2 separate regions of the Homo sapiens genome follow, and region 1 is linked to region 2. The links are contacts of gene promoters, found by promoter capture Hi-C in human tissues and cell types (Jung and others, 2019). All regions are on one chromosome and are shown on one strand. The core of a region is centred on a gene start or on the middle of the fragment in contact, and the rest is flanking DNA. Distances in the headings are between cores, read along the strand shown. Region 1 holds the start of AOC2 (amine oxidase copper containing 2). Region 2 overlaps PTGES3L-AARSD1 (PTGES3L-AARSD1 readthrough).

Evidence for each region. Contacts are between HindIII fragments. The study calls those that stand out against the background at their distance.
Region 1: the fragment with the promoter of AOC2 here is called in contact with a fragment that was not itself captured in region 2 in 3 of the 25 tissues and cell types used here (IMR-90 fibroblasts, lymphoblastoid cells and mesenchymal stem cells).

Annotation. Positions count from the first base shown.
Region 1 is chr17:42,842,922-42,845,830 of GRCh38, reverse strand. It overlaps AOC2 (amine oxidase copper containing 2), which reads right to left and starts at 1,251. Exons shown (of 4, transcript NM_009590.4): 1 at 1-1,251. The coding sequence starts at 1,204. It overlaps PSME3 (proteasome activator subunit 3), which reads right to left. Exons shown (of 11, transcript NM_005789.4): 11 at 2,071-2,909. The HindIII fragment of the contact is 18,620 bases long and covers 1-2,909 here.
Region 2 is chr17:42,972,353-42,975,547 of GRCh38, reverse strand. The region is part of intron 4 of PTGES3L-AARSD1 (PTGES3L-AARSD1 readthrough); the gene reads left to right. The region is part of intron 4 of PTGES3L (prostaglandin E synthase 3 like); the gene reads left to right. Among named protein-coding and RNA genes, the nearest start is that of PTGES3L, 6.1 kb to the left of the region's middle. RefSeq lists an enhancer at 2,353-2,919. The HindIII fragment of the contact is 3,653 bases long and covers 1-3,195 here.

The DNA.
Region 1 (2,909 bases), core at 2-2,501, 130 kb after region 2:
CTTGATAGGGGCAGTCCACTCCCCGCACCAAGCCTCGGCTGTTACGGCCGAGTCCAAAGCTGCTATCCAAATAGCGAGTCAGCATCGTCTTGGGTGAATCGGCACCATAGATAGATACACACTCCTGGACACTGACTTCATAGGCTATTCGCTCACCCTGGAACCGAACATCAAAAATCCTCAGGCCGCTGAACACCCCATGGCCAAAGGTAAATGACCAGAGGGAGGATACCACCAGGTTTCCTTGCACACTGTACTGGGAACCCTGGGGCGAGAACTGAAGAGGGGGAAGAGGACCTGGAGAGTTCCGAGACCTCAGGGATGAAGCTCCATTTGGTGGAGGTAGAGGGACTCTAACCACTTCCAACCGGCCAGACTTAAACTCCCGTTCCAACTGGCCCAAGTCTGCATAGTAGTGCCCAAGGTAGAAGACCTGCTGGACAGTCCAGTGGGCAGGGTCCAGGGCCCTGTGGTCCAGTAGTAGCTCCAGCCCCACGGGGTGAAGGAAAAGACCAACCCCTGAGATGTTATGGTAGAGGGCCATCCAGGTAGCTCGGTCCCCTGAGCGCAAGCCCCGAGGGGTGGCATGCACAGCTGCCAGGGTAGAGCCATTGTAGTTGAAGGTGGACGACAGGAAGATGGGTGCCTTGGGTAGCTCCACCTCTTTCAGATGCCTCCACATCTGTGTAAACTCAGCTCTCAGCACCGGGCGACGGTGATAGGGCAGGGGCCCGCCGTGACGCTCCACAGTCACATCCCGCATGTACGAGGGGTGAGGCAGCGGCCCCACCACCAGCTCACTCACATTGGGTTGGGGTTGTCCACCAAAGAGGACGATGGCCAGTGCCTCCCGGGCAGGTGGGGGGCTCCCCCTGTCCAGGTGGGCCAGGGCTGCAGCCTTGGGGGGCAGCTGCAGCTCCACTGAGAAGATGCAGTTGTCCGAGGGCTGAGCCTGGGCTGCGTCCACCAGCCCTGGCCCCAGCCGCTGGGTCAGAAAGCGCATCACAGCTGTCAACTCCTCTCGGCTCAGGTCTGCAAACAGCTGGCTCTGGCCAGGGTGTGGCCAGGGCTGGGCCCTATGGGATACAGAGGGGCAGTGGGGAGGCTGGCTGGAACCACCTGGGCTGGTCAGCAAAACATAGGCCAGGGCAAAGATGGTAATGAGGGACAGTGCCAGGAACGCCAGGACTATCTTGAGATGCATGGTGGATGCTGAGAGCTGAAATCAGAATTCTAACAGCTGCTCCTTCCAGTTACTGACATCAAGTCGGGGTTTATATTCGCTAGGATGGATAGGAAGGGAGAAAACTCCACCCCATGGGTTGGGCAGGAAATTTCTGACCTTGATTTATGTAATTCTGTTCCAATTTTCTGTCCTGTGGTTTGGCCCAGGGCACTGCTTCCACATGCATAGCCTCTTCCTTGCCCCTGAACTCCCACTGGTAGCAGTCAGTACCAACTACTGATTTCCATCATTTAGACCAGATGAAAGGGAATCTGGGTTAACGATGCTAACCTCCAGTTTCCACCTGGAATGGGTCTCAGGAAGAGTACAAACCTCAGATGCCCAATTAAGTTCTGCAGCCTGCATGCAAGCACTAAGCTGTCCATTTTCCTACCTCCTGGCAGGAACTGCATCCCAACAGCTCCAGGATTCACTGCCATGTTCAGCAGTAAGCACTGAATTCTACTTGTTGCCTAATGCCAAGCCCTTGATTTGTAGTCAGGCCATTTCCAACCAGTGGAGTGGCTGAGGGCCTGGGCTTAGTAATCAGGTTTGTCCACCAATCCCAGTTCCCTCAGCTGTGTAACCTTAGCGGAAATACTTATCCTGAGTCTCAGTGTCCTCATCTGTAACAAATAGATACAACTATCCTATAGATTCCTGAAGATTAAATGTGATCATGCACATTAGGTACTTAACAGCCTGGCACAGGGGAGGCACTCACAAACCGCTAGCTTTTGGTAGTCATCTCTGAAACAGAACAGAGCAGCTGCTCCTCCATTGTTCAAGACCTTAAACTCTTTTTACAGAGACAACGAGGGGATCATTGGAAACCAGAAGGCTACTTGCAAGGTGGAAGATGAGGAAACTTTATTTCAGAGGGAGATAGATTCCTAGGCAGCCCTCCAAGTAATTTGAAAACCAAAACTAGGAGTCTCCTCAAGAAACTGAAGACATTATTCAGGAAGAATTAGTATAAGGTAAAGAAAATGACTGGGTAGGACGCGCCTTGAACCAGTTCATTCCTTACACATGGAACGATAGCAGCCTCTACTGGCAGTTCATGGGTATCACTCGGGAAGGAAGGAACTAGGATCTTCTGAAAGTAGGGAGAGAAGGCAGCTTAGGTCTGGGAAGAGCTAACTTTCCCATAATTCAGACTGAACACAAATGAAGCACCCAACCTTGCTCAGTAGGCAGAAGCCTCAGTCTTTCCACTATACTGGGGAAAAGATTCAGCTCAACTGGCATAAGGACACACAACAGGGTGGCTAGGTGTCCATGGAGGTGGGTGTCCAAGCGTGCACACATATGAGCATGAGTACATCCCTAGCCACCAGAGCATTGCACCAGGGTCTGCGGCTTTAGAAAGAGGTCAAAGTACCTGTATTTTTAATAATTTCTTGACATGGTAAAAGAATTTTACATTACGATCCATGGGTGATAGGGTGAGGAGGAGGGGCAGTGGAACAGTCCAACAAACGAAACGGGAAACTGAGAAACACATGGAGGGAAGGGGGAAGGGTTTTAGCTGGAAGGGATCTGGAGGGTGGGTGGGAGCACTGCCCAACTAAAATGCAATTGGTTTGTTACTGAGTACTATTCGTGGGAAGACAGCATCCTGACTCCCTCTCTACAGAATATTGGGAGTAAAAATGATGCATCCCCGGTGGAAATATTATTG
Region 2 (3,195 bases), core at 241-2,740:
CGTTTGATTTCCTGCCCTTTAGGTTGAGATCCGTTACATAACACACTAGCACATCCCACACTCTCTGCCCCAAGCTTTATCTTCTAGCCACAGCAGACTGTTGTGTTTTGTTTGTTTTGCAAAAACCAGGCTGTTTCTCACCTCTGTACCTTTGCTCAAGGTATGCCTTCTTCCTGAAAAGTTACCATCATTACTACCTTCACCCACCCAATCCCTGTGCATCCTTCAAAGCCCTGCCACTCCAGAAACCTGGGTTCTTGTGACTCCTTTTGGGGTTCCCATGATGTCCCCTATATAACTCCACCACCACACTTTTCACACTGTATTATAGTGCTTTATTTATATCTCCCTCCCCAGCTTGCTTCCAAGTGGCTGGGACAGTGTGTTGACCTTTTTTTTTTTTTTTTTTTTTGAGACAGGATGTCGTACTGTTACTCAGGCTGGAGTACAGTGGCATAATCAAGGTTCACAGCAGCGTTGCCCTTCTGGGCTCAAGCAATCCTCTCACCTTAGCCTCTTGAGTAGGTGGAACAACAGAAGTGTGCCACCATGCCTGGCTAATTTTTGTATTTTTTGTAGAGATGGGGTTTTGCCATGTTGCCCTAGGCTGGTCTCGAACCCCTGGGCTCAAGCAATTGATGTGCCTTGGCCTCCCAAAGTGCTGTGATTATAAGTGATAGCCACTGCGCCCGGCCAGAACATTTTTATAAACCCAGTGCCAAGCTGAGAGTCTGTCCATAGTATGTGTTCAATAAATTTTTTTTTTTTTTTTTTTGAGACAGAGTCTCACTCCATCGCCCAGGTTGGAGTACAGTGGCGTGATCTCGACTCACTGCAACCTCCACCTTCCGGGTTCCAGTAATCCTCCTGCGTTAGTCTCCTGAGTAGATGGGATTACAAGTGCCCACCAGCATTCCCAGCTAATTTCTGTATTTTTAGTAGAGATGGGGTTTCACCATGTTGGCCAGGCTGGTCTCAAACTCCTGACGTCAAGTGATCCACCTGCCTCAGCCTCCCAAAATGCTGGGATTACAGATGTTAGCCACTGCACCTGGCCAATAAATATCTTTTGAATGAAGGAGTGAATAACTTCTTCCCTGTATAAATGTGGAAACTTTGGAACATGGACCTTGAAGGGCTGTCTCTGACTCCATGGAATGCAGCTTGTCTTTTTTTTTTTTTTTTTCGAGACAGAGTTCCACTCTTGTTGCCCAGGCTGGGGTGCAGTGGCGCGATCTCAGCTTACTGCAGCTTCCACCTGCCAGGTTCAAGCAATTTTCCTGCCTCAGCCTCCCAAGTAGCTGGGACTAGAAGCATGTGCCACCATGCCCAGCTAATTTTGTATTTTTAGTAGAGATGGGGTTTTACCATGTTGGCCAGGCTGGTCTCGAACTCCTGACCTCAGGTGATCCACCCACCCTGGCCCCGCAGAGTGCTGGGATTACAGGTTGTGTGAGCCACTGCGCCTGGCTGCAGCTTGTCTGTCTTATTGGTTGACTCCTATGTTGCTTTATTTTTTTTTATTTTTATTTTTATTTTTTTTTAATTTATTTTTTTATTGATAATTCTTGGGTGTTTCTCACAGAGGGGGATTTGGCAGGGTCATGGGACAATAGTGGAGGGAAGGTCAGCAGATAAACAAGTGAACAAAGGTCTCTGGTTTTCCTAGGCAGAGGACCCTGCGGCCTTCCGCAGTGTTTGTGTCCCTGATTACTTGAGATTAGGGAGTGGTGATGACTCTTAACGAGCATGCTGCCTTCAAGCATCTGTTTAACAAAGCACATCTTGCACCGCCCTTAACCCATTTAACCCTGAGTGGACACAGCACATGTTTCAGAGAGCACAGGGTTGGGGGTAAGGTCACAGATCAACAGGATCCCAAGGCAGAAGAATTTTTCTTAGTGCAGAACAAAATGAAAAGTCTCCCATGTCTACTTCTTTCTACACAGACACGGCAACCATCCGATTTCTCAATCTTTTCCCCACCTTTTCCGCCTTTCTATTCCACAAAGCCGCCATTGTCATCCTGGCCCGTTCTCAGTGAGCTGTTGGGCACACCTCCCAGACGGGGTGGTGGCCAGGCAGAGGGGCTCCTCACTTCCCAGTAGGGGCGGCCGGGCAGAGGCGCCCCTCACCTCCCGGACGGGGCGGCTGGCCGGGCAGGGGGCTGACCCCCCCCACTTCCCTCCCGGACGGGGCGGCTGGCCGGGCGGAGGGGCTCTTCACTTCCCAGTAGGGGCCGCCGGGCAGAGGCGCCCCTCACCTCCCGGACGGGGCGGCTGGCCGGGCGGGGGGCTGACCCCCCCACCTCCCTCCCGGACGGGGCGGCTGGCCGGGCGGGGGGCTGACCCCCCCCCACCTCCCTCCCGGATGGGGTGGCTGCTGGGCAGAGACGCTCCTCACTTCCCAGATGGGGTGGCTGCCGGGCGGAGAGGCTCCTCACTTCTCAGACGGGGTGGTTGCCAGGCAGAGGGTCTCCTCACTTCTCAGACGGGGCGGCCGGGCAGAGACGCTCCTCACCTCCCAGACGGGGTCGCGGCCGGGCAGAGGCGCTCCTCACATCCCAGATGGGGCAGCGGGGCAGAGGTGCTCCCCACATCTCAGACGATGGGTGGCCGGGCAGAGACGCTCATCACTTCCTAGATGTGATGGCGGCCGGGAAGAGGCGCTCCTCACTTCCTAGATGGGATGGCGGCCGGGCGGAGACGCTCCTCACTTTCCAGACTGGGCAGCCAGGCAGAGGGGCTCCTCACATCCCAGACGATGGGCGGCCAGGCAGAGACACTCCTCACTTCCCAGACGGGGTGGCGGCCGGGCAGAGGCTGCAATCTCAGCACTTTGGGAGGCCAAGGCAGGCGGCTGGGAGGTGTAGGTTGTAGCGAGCCGAGATCATGCCACTGCACTCCAGCCTGGGCACCATTGAGCACTGAGTGAACGAGACTCCGTCTGCAATCCCGGCACCTCGGGAGGCCGAGGCTGGCGGATCACTCGCGGTTAGGGGCTGGAGACCGGCCCAGCCAACACAGCGAAACCCCGTCTCCACCAAAACCAGTCAGGCGTGGCGGTGCGTGCCTGCAATCGCAGGCACTCGGCAGGCTGAGGCAGGAGAATCAGGCAGGGAGGTTGCAGTGAGCCGAGATGGCAGCAGTACAGTCCAGCTTCGGCTCCGCATGAGAGGGAGACCGTGGAAAGAGA